Linked DNA regions of Homo sapiens: regions 2, 3, 4, 5 and 6 are each linked to region 1. The links are contacts of gene promoters, found by promoter capture Hi-C in human tissues and cell types (Jung and others, 2019). All regions are on one chromosome and are shown on one strand. Each heading gives the region's core, a stretch centred on a gene start or on the middle of the fragment in contact. The rest is flanking DNA. Distances are from core to core; before and after follow the strand shown. Region 1 holds the start of RBM4B (RNA binding motif protein 4B). Region 2 holds the start of PC (pyruvate carboxylase). Region 3 has its middle 8.8 kb from the start of SYT12. Region 4 holds the start of CD248 (CD248 molecule). Region 5 holds the start of C11orf86 (chromosome 11 open reading frame 86). Region 6 holds the start of CNIH2 (cornichon family AMPA receptor auxiliary protein 2).

Region 1 (2,700 bases), core at 29-2,528:
CCCAGATGGTATCAGAGAAGCCATTATGGAGCCACTAAAATGAGGAATGGTGGCTGACAACCTCCCTGGCGGGCTCTACTAGGAGATAAACCCAATCCATCAATCTCCATAAAAGGCTACTCTTTGCTGGAAGGTGACAGTGGGGAATCAGCCTAAACTTCTTTTTTTTTTTTTTTTGAGACCGAGTCTTGCTCTGTCACCCAGGCTGGAGTGCAGTGACGCCATCTCGGCTCACTGCAACCTCCGCCTCCCGGGTTCCAACGATTCTCCTGCCTCAGCCTCCCGAGTAGTTGGGATTACAGGCGCCCGCCACCACGCCGGGCTATTTTTTGTATTTTTAGTAGACACGGGGTTTCACCATGTTGGCCAAGCTGGTGTCGAACTCCTGAACTCGTGATCCGCCCGCCTTGGCCTCCCAAAGTGCTGGGATTATAGGCGTGAGCCGCCGCACCTGGCACGCCTAAGCTTGTTTTTACCGCCAGGAGGTGCCCTTGGACCACAGCTGAATTTTGAATGCTAGACAGTCGGGAAACTCAGTTGCCTAGACTTCCAGCTTGGTGTGTACGAGGAGACCCTGTCCCACCCAGAACTAGGGACCTCGCTGGGCCTCTCCACCAAGTATTCCTCTGGCGTGCTCACCACAGACCAGGACTGTGATGGACACACAATGAGTGAGAGAGAATCAGACCACGGATACTCACGAGCAAACAAAACATGACTAAGCGTAGCCTGGGTAGCAATGCCTCTTAGGCCTGTCCCAGTTCTGCCAGGTTATCTTTCTGCCCCTTGGTTCTCAGTTTCCGTAGCAATAAATAACACCTCTGCAATGACAAACTTTAAAATAATGTTTAAAGCGCTACAAAACAATGACTAGTTTTGCTTAAAATGTGGCGCACCTGTATTTTTGAAATGTTGCCCCAAGCTGCCACAGAAGCCGGCCAGCCCGCTACAAAAGCCCCTTTTTAGGGCCCTCGGGGAGATTCCTCTGTCATTAGCTCCCCGCCCCCCTCAAAGGGCCCAAGAGCAGGACCCATTGTGGTGAGCGACTCCCCAAGGCCTCCGCTTTTCTAGGCAGTGGTTGCGTTCAGAGCCCCTCTGACGCAGCAGTGGCGACCCTTTCCAGGGTGGTGACTGGCTGGCTGGGGCTGGGGGTGGGCTGACCTCCGCGGCGCCGCGCCACCACCAACAGGCCCCGCCCCCGTGCTGCGTGGTCATTTGTATGCAGCCTCGGGATTGGTCACTCGGCTCCCGCGAGGGGAAGGGGAGGGAAGCAGCGCGCACTCGCGCGTGCGTGAGCTGGCGCGCGAGAAAGGGCCCGGTCGCGTCCAGGCTCGAGCGGCCGTCGCCATTTTGTAAGGTTCTCTCTGACGTGGGAGCCGCCGTCGCTGCCGCCACCCGGAGGTGCGAGGGGGTCGTGTGTGTGTGATGTGGGGAGCTCGGGGGCGGGTCGGGCCGGGCCTCCGGCAGACTGCACGGCCCGGATTTGGGTTTCTCATTTTGCAGCGGGAGGTCTGGGAAGACAACGGGAGGAGGCGGGGCCGGGTCTCCGGAAGGAGGCGGGGCAGGGGTCGGGTCGAGTCTTTGTTGGGGCGAAGAAGCTGGAGGGTGGGCCGCTGGGGGCGAGGTGGTTGGTCCCCGGTTTGGGGGAAAGGGGACTTTTTTCTTTTTAGAGTATCTTGAAAGGCGCTAGTGCGCGCAGGAGAGGTACACAGATTTCCCTCCAAAACCTTGTTACCAGGCGCACTGCGATTGATGCCCCTTGCCTTTGCTTGGGCTTTTCTCTTCCCTCATTTTAAGACATGAAGCAGCTAATTCTGGTATTTCATTGCGCTCCACTTCACGGAGATGATAGACTGGGCTATGCATGCTGACCCTCGACCTCCTGTTTGCATGTCACGCATAGCTCGCACTTCTCGAGAACAAACCGCCCTTCTTCTATTGAGGAAGAATAATGAATGTCTGTACGAGGGTCTTGAAGGTGCAAGAACTTTGGAGGATTAGACGAAAATGCTGCAGTGCACCGAAATTTCCCACCACACCCCTGACTTTTGAAGTCTTGTGTTTCTCTCCCAGGCTCTTGTCAGGATGGTGAAGCTGTTCATCGGAAACCTTCCCCGGGAGGCTACAGAGCAGGAGATTCGCTCACTCTTCGAGCAGTATGGGAAGGTGCTGGAATGTGACATCATTAAGAATTACGGCTTTGTGCACATAGAAGACAAGACGGCAGCTGAGGATGCCATACGCAACCTGCACCATTACAAGCTTCATGGGGTGAACATCAACGTGGAAGCCAGCAAGAATAAGAGCAAAGCTTCAACCAAGTTACACGTGGGTAACATCAGCCCCACTTGTACCAACCAAGAGCTTCGAGCCAAGTTTGAGGAGTATGGTCCGGTCATCGAATGTGACATCGTGAAAGATTATGCCTTCGTACACATGGAGCGGGCAGAGGATGCAGTGGAGGCCATCAGGGGCCTTGACAACACAGAGTTTCAAGGTGAACTGCTCTGGGCCTGGGTAGTAGCGCCGAGTGGGGTCTAGCTCAAAACAGGCAAGAACACAAGACTATAGAACTTGCTGGGTGGTCTCTTCCATTCTGTTTTAGCTGGAAATAATAGATTATGTTTACCGCTCTTAAGCATAATTTACCCCTGGGGAAGCAAACACTTCCCCTTTTCAGGTTTGCTAAGATGTTGCTCA
Region 2 (2,700 bases), core at 190-2,689, 280 kb before region 1:
GAATGAAAGTAAAAATCTCGGGACCCCCCCCCAGCGCCCCAATTCATGCGAAAGTGAAGATTAAGCCTTGAAGCTGAGTCACTGCAACACCCTCTTCCAAAAGAATAGCTGTTACTAGCATTAGGCATCAGCCATATCCACACGGAAAGGTAAAAACCTCAGGCATTTGGGAAGGGCTGCCCCCACAGATCATTCACAAGTAAATTCTTGCTGGCCTCCCATAAACAAGGACAGGTCAATTGTAGCTTCAGGTCTACAATCTAAGTCTAGCTCCTAAAAATTCCACAATAAGAATGTCATTACAAGCTTATTTTCCCAGGTGCAGAACAAAGTCAAAACTACCTACTCAGAGACATCTGCATAACTGACTCTTCCTTTACTCTCTTTTTCTCTTCAGACATTCATCTCATCTTACGTAGATTTACCGGGCATTAGCTAAAGTCCCATAGGAATGTAACTATTGTCCTAATCGCCTACTTGCCCTTCTTCCTACATGCCTTCCCCTCATTCCCCCTTTAAGGAAATGCATAAATACTAAACCTCCCGAAAACCTCTTCGGAAAAACAACCACGGATGTGTCTGTGGTTCGTGTTTTTCCCGAGCACGCCCTCAAACTGGATTAATAAGCCTCGATGACAGAGACTTATGCCTCAGTCACTTGTTCCACTTGTCAAAGCTTTCCTCTTTGACAAGTGTCTTGGGTCTTGTCAAGTGTCTTGTGTCTCAAACAAGGCTTCCAAACCCCCTAGGTCCTGAGTAGCTTCGCTCTGCAGATGACAAAACCGAGACTCAGAGGTTAAGTTGCTTGCCCAAGGTCACACAGACGTACTGTAGACCCCCATCATCATCTACGCAGCTGTTAAAGGACATAGTCATGTAACCCGTGTGGCACAAGCGCCTTCTCCTTCCTCCTGCCCTTCGCTAACGTTAGCTTTTCCTGCGACCTCTTCTCCGCTAGCCAGCGCGTATCTGCGTCTAGCCGGGATGCCTGAGCCCCAGTGCGAACTGTTGTGCTTGCAGCTTCGGGAGACACGTGCTACTCGGGTGAATGAATCGAACGTCCCCACCCCCGCCGACAGCCAATAACTGCGAGCCACAGCCCGGCCACTTCCGCCTATTGCGGGCGTCGGCTAGGGTCCGGCGGCCCACGTGAGGCTCCGGAGACAAGGGAGTAGGCGGTGGTGCGCCAGGGGCGGGCTCTCCCAGCCTCGCCACTTATCCAGGCGCTCGCCGGGGACGGGAGGGGCGGGGCTGACGTGGGGCGCCAAGGCTTAAACGTGACGGACAGGCGGGCACAGGGAGGAGTCCAGAGCCTAGGGGCGAGGAGTGACGGAGAACACTGCCCAATAACGGGAGGGGTTGGGCTGTCTGGGCCAATAGGAAGTCCGTAAGGCGGGGCCGGGACTGCAGCAAGTTCGGTTGCACGGAGACCGCAGCTGTTCTCTGTCAGTGGAGGCAGCAGCGGTAGAGGCGGCGGCGAGGACTGGCGACGGCGAGGAGGTGAGTGTCCGCCGCGCTCCGCACGGTCCTCTTCCCGCGGCGGGTCGGAGCGGGTGGACGTGCGCCGGCACCGCTGCGAGGGACGCTTATGTAAGGGTCGCGCGCGCAAAGGCGGCGCGGGCTCCGCGAGTGACGGCTGGAGGAGACAGCGACGGGCTGTGCGCGGTGCGCGACGCGACGCAGCGGACGGCGCCCCTCCCCCTCGCGCGGGGGCTCGGCCGGCTGGACCCGCCCCCGGACCCGCCCCCGGCTGCAGCCCCCGAGCGCCCCTCCGCAGCGTCCGCCTGCGGGCTGCCTCATTCTTGCTCTCGGGCCCATTTTGCAGATGGAGAAACTGACTAAAGCGCCTCGCGCGAGGTCCCTGAGGGTTCGAACCCAAGTCTGTCAGGATCGGGAGCCCAAGTTGTCCCCATCGTACTGGATGTGGCTCAGCTCTGCAGGAAGCCGCGGCGTGTAAGGCGAGGGCTTTCCTTGTTCCTTGCTCTCGCACTCCGCCTCCCGTAGGATCCTCTACTTTGTTTCAGACGGGGAAGCTCCAGGCGCCCAGACGCAGTGATTCGCCCAAGGCCGCTCATTCAGGAGGTGGGGCTGGGCTCAGCCCCTTATTTCTCCAGCTTTTAGTAGTTTACAAAGCGCATCAGAGTCGGAAGCCAAGTCCCTAGGTCCCTGGCAACTTTGAGATTCTTTTGTTTTCTTTTCTTTTTTAGACAGGGTCTTGCTGTCACCCACCCAGGCTGGAGTGCAGTGGCGCGATCTCGGCTCACTGCAGTCTCGACCTCCCGGGCTCAAGCGACCCTCCTGCCACAGTCCCCCAGTGCTGGGACTACAGGCGGGCGCCACCACGCCTAGCTAATTTTTGTATTTTTTGGTAGAGACGAGGTTCCGTCATGTTGCCCAGGCTGGTCTCGAACTCCTACGCTCAAGCGAGCGGCCTGCCCTGGCTTCCCAAAGTGCTGAGATTACAGGCGTGCCTCGTCTGAAATTCTAAAAAATCAGATTGTGTCTTTATTTTGTGAGAAGAGGTAGGCCTGGGCTCCTTACCCGTTCTCCAGCTGAGAAAACAGGCTCAGAGAAGTACCAACACTTGCTGATGACAACCAGAACCTCCAGAGTGCCTGCCATCTGCCTCCCTATTGCTCCCGTACCCACTGCCACCATCAGCCCTGGCTGGCCTCCCCCAAGGCACCCTTTCCCTGTATG
Region 3 (2,700 bases), core at 161-2,660, 340 kb before region 1:
GCTGTTTCTAACTCTTATTGCTAAGGAGGAATCCACGTCCAGGACAGCGAAAATCCCTGGGCCTGGCCATGTGCAGCCCACCAGTCCTGGCTCCAAGTCCTGAGCGCTTTTCTCTCCCGAGGAGAGAAAGCCCTTCCCTTTCCCTTCCCTTTGTTCCCAGCTGGGACTCCCATCATGCCACAACCCCCCACCACCGCCTCCACACCAGGGTAAAGATGTGGCCCCTGGAAGCAGCTGTCCATAGCACAGATCATTGGAGAGCAGCCTGTGGGGTGCAGAGAGGATGCTGAGGAGCTGGGCCTGCATTGGAGGCCAGCACTCATGGGGCCAGGCTGAGGCCAGCAGGGGTGGCAGGGACTTGCTCTCCCAGCATTGGCCTTGGCCGCCCTGCCCTCCTGTTGCGACCCCCTGCCCAGGGACTACTGGTCTCTACTTCCACAAGACACCTGCGCTGCCTTTCCACCTGTCACCGGGATCCCCTTGGTTGGGGGAAGCTTAAGAAGGAGCCGCGGCTCTGGATGCAAGGCAGGGATCTCCCATTGTTGTGGGAAAGTAAGGGGCCAGAGAGACCGAATTGGGTGAAGGAGTTTATTTAAGGTGCACACCGGCTCAGCGGACTTGCATCTAGAAAGTTTGGCACTAGACAAAGAAAGCAGCTGTCTTTTAAGTAGTTTGTGGCGGGAGCTACGTGATGCAGGAATATTTTACTGTGAAAAATAATTTTTTTTTTTTTACTTCATTCCAGCCACCCTGCATATACCCAAGGCAGCCTGACTGCCACCAGCCTCCAGGGAGCGTCGAGAGTGGTAGTAAGGAGGCCACGAGGATCCCTGCTGCCCTGGAGGGCAGGACAGGGAACCTGGCCAGGTTTGTGGGCCACGGACAGCCAGCCAGGGCACCTAGGCCCCTCTGGGTTCTCAGACCCCCATGCCATGCCTCAAGGCTGCCTCCAAATCAGTCAAAACAGCCTTGGGGCCTGCCTGCTACCCCCACCTCCACCCCAGTCCTACCTCCACTGTGATCCCTCAGCCCCTTATTGTCCAGTCTGGGTCTCACCCACAAGGCCCCAAGCTCCCAGTTGCTGGGTCCCCTGCCTGGCTCACAGACCGGCCTCAGTGCCTGGCAGAGGGCAGCCCGGCAGGAGCCGCTTCTCCAACCCTCTCCAGAGAAGCTGGTGCTGGGTGCGTCAGGGAAGCCAGCCCTTGGATCTGTGGGTCCTCGCCTGTTCCCCGCCCTCATACTCAGCTACCCCAGGCATCTGCTCTGGGCGTGCTGCTTGGATTCACAGTCATCAAACTCATTAACAAGATCTTCACTCCTTCCAATGAGCACTTTCCATGGGATGTGGAGGTGAAGGGACACCCTCCCTGATCCCGGACACATCTACACACATCTAGGCTGATGGGATGGTTGCAGCAAGTTGACTTGTGACCCCCCAAAAAGATACATCTGAGTCCTAACACCTAGCACTTGCGAATGTCATCTTTTTTGAAAATAGGGTCTTTGCAGATGTAATTAAGTGAAGGATCTCAAGCTGTAATCACTTTAGATTTACAGTGGGTCCTACATGCGATGGGTGGTGTCCTTATAAGAAAGAAAACAGGGACATCTCAGCCATGAAGGCACAGAGAGAAGAAGGCCACGTGGAGACGGAGGCAGGGGCTGGAGTTATGAAACCCTCAGCCAAGGAATATCAAGGGTTGCTGGCAGCCCCCGGAAGCTGGGAAAGAGGCCTGGGATGGATTCTCCCGGAGAGCGTCTGGAGGGAACCAGCCCTGCCAACACCTTGATTCTGGGCTCTGGCCTCCAGAACTATGAGAGAATTAATTTCTGGTTTTGTAAGCTGCCAAATTTGCAGTAATGTGTCATGGCAGCCCCAGGAAAGGAACGCAGACGGCATTAGCCCCAGCCTGTGCTAAGGGCGCTGAGCAGACTGCAGCTGAGTGGAGGGCAGGGAGGCCCTGCGCCGGGGGCCACACTTGACAGGGGCCTGTAACCTCCTGAGAAGACACACAGACAGGGGAGGATCCATTCAGTAACAAGGTAACTGGCTGGTGGGATCCTGGCCCAGGGAGGGGGCTTGTGGGCCAGGAGCCTCGAAGGGTGAATGGGATGGGCTCAAGGACTAAAGGCCTTGACTGTCAGGGTTGGGGCTGGGACAAAGAGGAGAGAGGCAGGAGCCCTGGCTGAAGACGAGAAAGGCCCAGACGCTCACTCAGTTCCTGGAAGGGCTGCAGGGAGAAAGGGGAGAAGGTGCAACCCTGCCAGGCCCTGAGCACCAGCGCCCTGAGGACCAGCACCCTGAGGAAGCTGCAGGGAGGCAGGTATCAGCTCGGCAGACACAAGAGCTTGCATGGCCAGGGCCCCCACAGTGAAAATGACCCCGAGTTGGGGCAAGCTCCCCATCAAGGGAGATATGTAAATAAAAGTGCCTGGTAGGGATCCTAGCCCCAACTAAGTTATGTTATGGGTGGTCCCTGAAGACCCCTTTGCAACCTGAGACACTACATATTGCCTGGCTGAGCTGCTCCTCCCCACTCTGCGTGTCAATTACACTGAATTGATCCGGCTCAAGCCACTTATACCCACTTTCCTTCCGGACTCTGGGGCCTGCACCTGTGAGGACAGGGACTCACTCCTGGAGATCTGGAACTCAGGAATGACGGGCAGATTCCCAACCTCCTCCCAAAGGAAAGGATG
Region 4 (2,700 bases), core at 171-2,670, 360 kb after region 1:
AAAAATCCTGGACTCATTGCCCTCATGTTGCAACTGAGAAAAAAGGAGACCCAGAGAGGGCCAGTGACTCCCCTGCAGTCACAAAGTCGATCCATCTGTGGCAGAGGGGGAAGCTGCATCAGGGCAGTTTACTGAAGGGCGGAACCTCTCCCCCACCTCCCCACACTGTTTCTAACTTCTGCTAAGAGTGCAGCGGGTGTGCATGGGTTAATCCGCCAGCCAGCTCCCCAGAGGCCATCCTGGATGATGGGCTCAGTGCACATGCCTCCAGAGGCCTCCAGGAAGGGCGGGAAGAGGACCCTGGCCAGGCCGAAACAGCAGGCCCCGGGGGCAGGGAGGGCTCCACACACGTGATGCCTGTGTCACATATACACATATATGTCACTGTGTGCCCCATGCCCATACATGGCCTTGCATGGGTCCCCTCACAGCCTTCCACATCCTGCGTGCAGCCCAGCCCCCACCCAGCCCCCTAAACCACGCACCCTGCCTTCCTGACGCAGGAGCCCAGAGAGGCATTTCCTGTTTAGGGGCTGCCTCCTCCCCCTCTAAGCCCAGGTTCCCAGGGCCCCAGGCTGAGCTGGGGTGAGGGGAGGGCAGCCCCTGGCCCCCTCACTCCCCCAACACCCCCACACGCTGGCCCAGCTGGAACCAGAAAGCTTGAGTATAGGGGGAGAGGCTGACGCAGGGGCTCAGTAAATAAATGAGAGGCTGAGGATGCCTGTGCCTGGGTGACCAAGCTGTTTCCATTCAGGCCGAATCGGAGGTCTTCATATGTCAGGCCATGTAGAATGCCACACCATTTTTGTATGTGCACCTAGGGTCTCAGCATGTCAGAATGTGTGTACGTGTGGCAAGGGAGTCATCTGCAAGCCAGCATAGGTCCACGGTGAGGTGAAGGGACAAACAGCTTGGCAGAGAGTGCACTCTTGCATGGGGTTGGGGGTGGGGGAGGCGCATGCGCGCGTCTGTGGGGCAAGAAAGGAGTGGGCATGAGGGTGTTCCCGTGCATGGCGAGCAGCTGGGCTGAGACTGCTCCCGGGTGTGATGGGGCTGCTGTGTCCAGATTTGGGTCTCTGAGTCTCTGGGAAGCGACCTCACCCCACAGCCCCGAGCCCCAACTTGAGGGTCACAGAGCTCGGCAGGCAGGCTTTTCCCACCCCCTGACTCTCAGCCCCATGGGGCCTGGGGCAGCCGTCAACTGCGCCTTCTCCCCTCCTCCGCCCCCAACCTTAGAGCCCCCCACCCCACTGCTTCCTGCTCTAGCGGCCCCCGGGGAAGAGGGAGCAGGGAGCTGGCAGCCGCCCCAGCCCACTCCTTACAAGGCCTGAGCCCGGCCCCAGGCCCGCCCCCGGCCCGCCCGCAGGAGGCCCCAGGCCCTCCCCCTGTCAAGAGCTGCCGCCAGCCCGGGGCCGGACCAGTCCGGGGGCATCGCGATGCTGCTGCGCCTGTTGCTGGCCTGGGCGGCCGCAGGGCCCACACTGGGCCAGGACCCCTGGGCTGCTGAGCCCCGTGCCGCCTGCGGCCCCAGCAGCTGCTACGCTCTCTTCCCACGGCGCCGCACCTTCCTGGAGGCCTGGCGGGCCTGCCGCGAGCTGGGGGGCGACCTGGCCACTCCTCGGACCCCCGAGGAGGCCCAGCGTGTGGACAGCCTGGTGGGTGCGGGCCCAGCCAGCCGGCTGCTGTGGATCGGGCTGCAGCGGCAGGCCCGGCAATGCCAGCTGCAGCGCCCACTGCGCGGCTTCACGTGGACCACAGGGGACCAGGACACGGCTTTCACCAACTGGGCCCAGCCAGCCTCTGGAGGCCCCTGCCCGGCCCAGCGCTGTGTGGCCCTGGAGGCAAGTGGCGAGCACCGCTGGCTGGAGGGCTCGTGCACGCTGGCTGTCGACGGCTACCTGTGCCAGTTTGGCTTCGAGGGCGCCTGCCCGGCGCTGCAAGATGAGGCGGGCCAGGCCGGCCCAGCCGTGTATACCACGCCCTTCCACCTGGTCTCCACAGAGTTTGAGTGGCTGCCCTTCGGCTCTGTGGCCGCTGTGCAGTGCCAGGCTGGCAGGGGAGCCTCTCTGCTCTGCGTGAAGCAGCCTGAGGGAGGTGTGGGCTGGTCACGGGCTGGGCCCCTGTGCCTGGGGACTGGCTGCAGCCCTGACAACGGGGGCTGCGAACACGAATGTGTGGAGGAGGTGGATGGTCACGTGTCCTGCCGCTGCACTGAGGGCTTCCGGCTGGCAGCAGACGGGCGCAGTTGCGAGGACCCCTGTGCCCAGGCTCCGTGCGAGCAGCAGTGTGAGCCCGGTGGGCCACAAGGCTACAGCTGCCACTGTCGCCTGGGTTTCCGGCCAGCGGAGGATGATCCGCACCGCTGTGTGGACACAGATGAGTGCCAGATTGCCGGTGTGTGCCAGCAGATGTGTGTCAACTACGTTGGTGGCTTCGAGTGTTATTGTAGCGAGGGACATGAGCTGGAGGCTGATGGCATCAGCTGCAGCCCTGCAGGGGCCATGGGTGCCCAGGCTTCCCAGGACCTCGGAGATGAGTTGCTGGATGACGGGGAGGATGAGGAAGATGAAGACGAGGCCTGGAAGGCCTTCAACGGTGGCTGGACGGAGATGCCTGGGATCCTGTGGATGGAGCCTACGCAGCCGCCTGACTTTGCCCTGGCCTATAGACCGAGCTTCCCAGAGGACAGAGAGCCACAGA
Region 5 (2,700 bases), core at 152-2,651, 300 kb before region 1:
GGGCAGTTGGGTCATGGCCCAGTGACCAGGCAACGTCCGTGAGCCTCTCGGCCATGGGTCTGGCTTCATCAAGCTCCGTCCTGGAAGTTGACAGCTGGTCGTGTGGGGCAGGAGCGTCCACAGCCCCCATTCCGGGCAGGCTTCTTCTAAACCTTCATAGAATCATAGTCCAAGGCCCCTACCCAAGCCCAGAGGGCAGACAGCTGAGCCCCCTTCTTTTTGACCCTGCTGGGATCTTCAAAGAGAGCTAGTGCTGGAGTGGAAGGGCCAGAGCTAAGAGTGGCAGCCACGTGGCGACTCCAGTGAGCTGGTGGCAGAAGCCTCCTAGGGCCACCCAGCCAAAGTCCAGAGAGCTGTGAAGAGGTAGGTCAGCAGACACGGTGGGCTGGTCCAGGCACAGCAAGGGGGCCACGATGGCTTCCAGCATCTTTAGCTGATGGTGCCCAGTGTGGGCTACGGGGAGGCCGGCTGACTCAGAGTCACGCTGGGGAAGATGGCGACAAAGCTCTCCCACCTTCTTCTTACCTGCTGGAAGACAGAGGTGGGGGAGGTCCCATGGGCTGAGTGGTGGGCTTAGATGTTGTTCCACCCATAGCCACGAGGTGGGGGTAGACCCCAGGTAGAGAAGCACTGCTCATTGGAGACCCTGTCTCTTAGAGGAGGGAGCCTGCAGCCCCCCACAAAGGGGTCCAGATCTCCCCTTTTTCTCTGGGGTGAGAGGGTCACACAGTGTACTTCCCAGGAAGTTGCACTGGCTGATCTCCTTGCCTCCTGCTCTATTCCCCCATCCAGCATACTATCAATCAGCTAAAAACAGCGCTTACCATATCACCCTCCTCCTCTAAAACCTTCAGTGGCTCCCCAGTGCCTGTGGGATAAATCCCAAATGCCTTCAGGGCCCTCTGAAACGTGGCTCTGGGGTGTCTCTCTCTGCACCCTCATCTCCAGGCAGCTCGGTTGTCATCTTGGTACACAGCCTGGGCTGGCTCTGTCTCTGAACCTTTCCTGCCCTGGAATCCCTGCCCACCTGCTGTGGTACCCTCCATCCTTCAGCCCACAGCCATACCTGTTGGTACCGCCTCAGCCACCACCGGCTGCCTCTTCGCTGGGCTTGGATCAGCTGCTCTGTGTCCCCCAGGCTCCCCGGCACCCGCTCCTGGGCAGTGGCATCTGGCCCTTCTGTGCCTCTCTCGAGGCCCTGGGACCTGGACTTCTCTTGCCCCTGTCTGAGGCTTAGCGCCCTGCGGAGTTGGCCCTCCTGGGGCCTCCCCCAGGGCTCCTGCAGCTTTCCATAGGAGGGTCGGGGCTCTCGCAAGGACTGACTTCGCAGCCCTGTTCCCATGGCTCCGGAGGCTGCAGGCACAGGACTGCTCCGGCCCCTCAGCAAGACACTGGCCCTCTGAGGTGGCCCAGTGCCTCCACCCATCTGACAAGAGATCACTGGGGGCAAAGGTTGGTGCTGCCAAGGTGGCTTTCATAAATCAAAGGGCAGGCCACAGGGCCAAGCATCCCTGAGTCACCTCACCACTGCCTCCCCACCTTCTGGGTCAAGGAGTGAAGGCCAAGGGGAGGAAATTGCCACTCCCTCCTTCACCTATCCTTCCCCCCTCCCCCTCCCCTCCCCCTCCCCTCCTCTCCCCCCTCCCTCCTCCCCCATCCTCCCCCCTCCTTCTCCCCTCCCCTCCCCCTTCCTTCCCCTCCCCTCTCCCTCCCCCCTCCTCCTTCTCCTCCTTCTCCTCTAGGCAGCTTCCCTGACTACCTCATCCCTGAAGAGTTTGTTCTCCTCTGAATCTCTATGGCCCCGGCATCCATTGACACTGAGCACCATGGCTTAACAACCAAACAGAGACAGCCTTTTAAGAATTGGGCCAGGCCCGGTGGCTCACGCCTGTAATCCTAGCACTTTGAGAGGCCGAGGCAGGCAGATTGCCTGAGATCAGGAGTTCCAGACCAGCCTTGCCAACATGGTAAAACCCCGTCTCTACTAAAAATACAAAAAATTAGCTGGGCATGGTGGCGGGCGCCTGTAATCCCAGCTACTCAGGAGGCTGAGGCAGGAGAATCACTTGAACCCAGAAGGCGGAGGTTGCAGTGAGCCGAGATTGTGCCACTGCACCCAACCTGGGTGACAGAGCAAGACTGCGTCTCAAAAAGAAATATATTTTTCAAAAAAGCATCAGTATGGCTCCAAGCTAGAACAATCACATTCACAAAGACAGCAAGGAGGATGGCCGTTGCCAGGCACTGGGGGAGGGAGGAATGAAGAATTTAATGGCTGTAAATTTTCAGATTTCATAAGATGAAGAGTTCCAGAGATTGGTTGCACAACAATGGTTGAAATGGTAAACTTTATGGTATATGTGTTATACAATACTGGAGAATTTCTTTTTTTTTTTTTTTTTTTTTAAGAAACAGAAGGAAACAGGACGGCTCCAGGCTAGGAGTCAGGAGGCCTGGATTTTTTCCAGGCCCAGCGCTGCCCCTAATGTCCCAGCAGCACAGCACTATCCTTGAGCACTCAAGCTCTGAGGACCAACTGCCTCTGGGTAAACTGTAGCTTCATTCCTTGCAGCCTTGTGACCTTGGGCACATTTTTCTCCTTCATTCGTAAGAGGGACAAATAACTTGGGTAATTGTTGTGCGTATTAAATGTGGTCCACAGGGCTTGGCACACAGCAAGCCCTCGAACAAAGTGAGTTG
Region 6 (2,700 bases), core at 201-2,700, 400 kb after region 1:
GAAGGAGGGAAGGGCTATGGGAAATGGGATTGAGGGAGGGATAAGAGGACCCCTGAAAGGGAATGACAATCAGGGAGGTGTGCGCGGGAGGTGTGAGCAGAGGATGCTGAGCTGAGCCAGCCAGGGCCGAGCTGGGCAGGCTGTTACAGAAACAGGCACGGGGTTTGGGTGGGGGTGGGGACGGAGGGCAGTAAAGTGGGGCCAGGGGCCCCCAACAACCAGCTGGAGGCTGATTGATAGTTCTGTAGTGAGGGGACGGGAGCCAGGCAGAGGAGGCCCTGGAGGAGAGGAGCGGGAGGGGAGGAGGAGGGAGCCTGGGGGAAGCGATGGGTCGGATGCAGGATGAGGAATGGACATTTTGAAGAACCAGGTGTGAGGCTAGGCCAGGGCGAGGGACAGACCAAGGGGTATGTGAGAGACAAAGGGGAAGGGGGACAGGAAGAGGAGGGAAGCTGGAAAATGGAGAGGAAACCTGGGGGGCTGGGAAGCCCCCAACAGGAGGGGTAGGGAAACCCAAGGTGAGCCGGTGGTGGGGGCTAGGTCTCTGGGGGCTGATGAGAGCCAACTGCTGCTTGGTCAGGGAGGGGGCTGGGAAGGCAAAGGGTTAATGGACTCTGAGATCTGTGGGTCCTGTAAACAGATGCAGTTGCCATAGCAACCAGCTCCATCACTCTGGCTGGAAAAACCCACAAAGGCGGGGGGGGGGGGGCAGCAGACAGACAAACTGCCCGACGGACTAATGGAGGCGGCTGGATGGTGGTGGGGGGGGACATAGAAGATAAAGCAACAAAAATGCCAGAATTCCACCCCCCACCTCACGGGCTGCATGGGAGCAGAGGACGAGGGCAGAGGAGGGGGTCAGAGACCGACTGACATACACACAGACAGGCGGGGGCGGCGGAGGAAGGGGGGCCCCGGGAAGAAAGCCGACCACGGGGGGTGTTAATGGGGGCGAAGCCGACAAGCCGACGGCTGGGGGATAGCAAGTTTCCCCTGGGCTCTGAGACCACCCGCCCTGGGTCCCTCCAGCTCCGCGTGGCCCCTGCCCCCCACCCCGCCCCCAGCCCCAGCCCCAGCCCGGCCTTACGTGCCAGATGACAAAGAAGATGAGGGAGGCGCACAGCACCAGGGTGAGCATGTAGCAGAACGCGGCGAAGGTGAACGCCATGGCCCCCGCGCCGGGCGGCGGCCCGGGGGGCGCCAGCGCGGGGCCCGGGCGCAAGGGGACGCCCCCCGGCCCGCGCTTAGGGCCGGCCGGGCATGGCCCGTGGGGCTCGGGGGACGTGGGTGATGCGGCCGGGACCGGGACCGCGGGGCCGTGGGGGGCGCGGGGCGCGGGCCGGTGGGCTCGGGGGGCGCGTCCGCTGCCGGCTGCCCGGGCCCCGATCGCTCATCCTGCGATCCCTCGCCCGCGGCTCCCTCGCTCTCCAGCCCGCGAAGCCGGCGGGGCGGAGCCGGGGGCGGGGCCGCCGCGCGAGCGGCCTCGGGCGGGGCTGGGTCTCCGCGGGCCCCTCGTCTGCCCGCCCGGCTCGGGCGCCACCCCCAGCCCCGACAAGCCCGCGGCCGTTCACCCTCCGGACAGCGTAGACGCGGCCGCCCCCGGCACCCCGCACCCCTCGGCACTCCAGCCACCGGCACAGCCGCACTCGGCCCCCTCGGGCGGGCGCTCAGGGCAAAGGCTGAAGTGCGAGGCACTTGTCACTGTCGGAGACGGCAGAAGCACCTGGCTGGGACACACAATGACGCCAGGACAGGGGCTGAATGGGAGCAGTGGGGTTTTGGGGGGCGCTGAAGGAGGTTGGGCCAGGTGCAGTGGGGGCCCTCTCAGCGGCTGCGCGACCCCACACCTCTGCCGTGTGCCCCGCGGGAGTTGGCGGCGGCACGCCAGGTATGAGCTGATGGCCGCCTGCCTCTTTCCCTGACAGAACGGTGCTGGGCCCTTGGGGACAGACCACAGAAGCACAAGCAGCTTTCCTGGCCTCAGGAAACGGGGTCAAGGGCTTTTGCCAGCAGCCTTAGGACACAGAAACCAAGCCAGGACCCCCGTGCACCCCACCAAGCCCAGGGTTCCAGTTCCATCCCCCCACCCCAAGGCTGGGCTTAGACCACAGACCACACTTGGCCACCACAACTTCCTTGCAAAAACCCTCAGCTCACCCGAGGGCCAATGGAAATTTATTAATTTTTTTTGTCCTTTTCCATCTTTCCCCAAGTGGCTTTTCCTTGCAAAATGCCTGACATGACACCAGAGGGGAACCTGGGAGCGGGGGGCACCCCAAGGGGGCAGCCCAGGGACTTAAATACAAGCTGGAGGGCAGGGCACAGGTGGGACAGGCAAGAGACAGCACGAGGGACATGGCTTCTCAGGGAGACCAAAGACTTGCTTTCTTGCAGGAAGCAGCTGTGCCAGAGGGCAGGGGACTAGGATCCTGGGTGCAGAGTGGGTGAGCAGAGAGGCCCCCAATCCTGGATGGAACCCACATTCCCCAGAGAAGTAGCGGCAGGGGATGAGGGCCTTCCCTGGTGGGCTCCAGAGACGGAGTGGGGAGTGAGCCAGATGTGCTACCTTGGGGAAAGGGAGGAGGTGCTAGCAGAGTGAGGGTTAAGGCTGGTGCCCAGCCTCTGGCACGGTGGGCCTTCCGCCTCCGCCTGACATGGGGACAAAGGGGCACGGTGGGCAGGCAGCGCATGGGTCTGTCT

Evidence for each region. Contacts are between HindIII fragments. The study calls those that stand out against the background at their distance.
Region 2: the fragment with the promoter of PC here is called in contact with the fragment with the promoter of RBM4B in region 1 in 4 of the 25 tissues and cell types used here (heart right ventricle, hippocampus, lymphoblastoid cells and 1 more).
Region 3: a fragment that was not itself captured here is called in contact with the fragment with the promoter of RBM4B in region 1 in 1 of the 25 tissues and cell types used here (mesenchymal stem cells).
Region 4: the fragment with the promoter of CD248 here is called in contact with the fragment with the promoter of RBM4B in region 1 in 1 of the 25 tissues and cell types used here (dorsolateral prefrontal cortex).
Region 5: a contact is called between the fragment with the promoter of C11orf86 here and the fragment with the promoter of RBM4B in region 1, in 3 of the 25 tissues and cell types used here (liver, mesendoderm cells and thymus).
Region 6: the fragment with the promoter of CNIH2 here is called in contact with the fragment with the promoter of RBM4B in region 1 in 1 of the 25 tissues and cell types used here (heart left ventricle).

Annotation. Positions count from the first base shown.
Region 1 is chr11:66,676,465-66,679,164 of GRCh38, reverse strand. RBM4B (RNA binding motif protein 4B) reads left to right here and starts at 1,278. Exons shown (of 4, transcript NM_031492.4): 1 at 1,278-1,401; 2 at 2,074-2,497. The coding sequence starts at 2,086. RefSeq lists silencers at 1,076-1,355, 1,556-1,665. The HindIII fragment of the contact is 6,531 bases long and covers 1-2,700 here.
Region 2 is chr11:66,957,122-66,959,821 of GRCh38, reverse strand. PC (pyruvate carboxylase) reads left to right here and starts at 1,439. Exons shown (of 23, transcript NM_001040716.2): 1 at 1,439-1,500. RefSeq lists silencers at 1,002-1,361, 1,682-1,781 and enhancers at 1,432-1,481, 2,645-2,700. The HindIII fragment of the contact is 6,851 bases long and covers 492-2,700 here.
Region 3 is chr11:67,012,961-67,015,660 of GRCh38, reverse strand. It overlaps a transcript of SYT12 not described here. Among named protein-coding and RNA genes, the nearest start is that of SYT12, 8.8 kb to the left of the region's middle. The HindIII fragment of the contact is 3,268 bases long and covers 1-2,700 here.
Region 4 is chr11:66,315,764-66,318,463 of GRCh38, reverse strand. CD248 (CD248 molecule) reads left to right here and starts at 1,420. Exons shown (of 1, transcript NM_020404.3): 1 at 1,420-2,700. The coding sequence starts at 1,437. RefSeq lists a silencer at 1,222-1,491 and an enhancer at 1,975-2,671. The HindIII fragment of the contact is 8,045 bases long and covers 1-2,700 here.
Region 5 is chr11:66,974,005-66,976,704 of GRCh38, reverse strand. C11orf86 (chromosome 11 open reading frame 86) reads right to left here and starts at 1,401. Exons shown (of 2, transcript NM_001353554.2): 1 at 1,067-1,401; 2 at 1-528. The coding sequence starts at 1,342. The coding sequence ends at 454. RefSeq lists an enhancer at 217-720. The HindIII fragment of the contact is 14,679 bases long and covers 1-2,700 here.
Region 6 is chr11:66,276,925-66,279,624 of GRCh38, reverse strand. It overlaps CNIH2 (cornichon family AMPA receptor auxiliary protein 2), which reads right to left and starts at 1,450. Exons shown (of 6, transcript NM_182553.3): 1 at 1,088-1,450. The coding sequence starts at 1,168. It overlaps RAB1B (RAB1B, member RAS oncogene family), which reads right to left. Exons shown (of 6, transcript NM_030981.3): 6 at 2,133-2,700. LOC107984340 (a long non-coding RNA gene) reads left to right here and starts at 1,100. Exons shown (of 2, transcript XR_001748274.1): 1 at 1,100-1,130. RefSeq lists a silencer at 1,345-1,674. The HindIII fragment of the contact is 9,186 bases long and covers 1-2,700 here.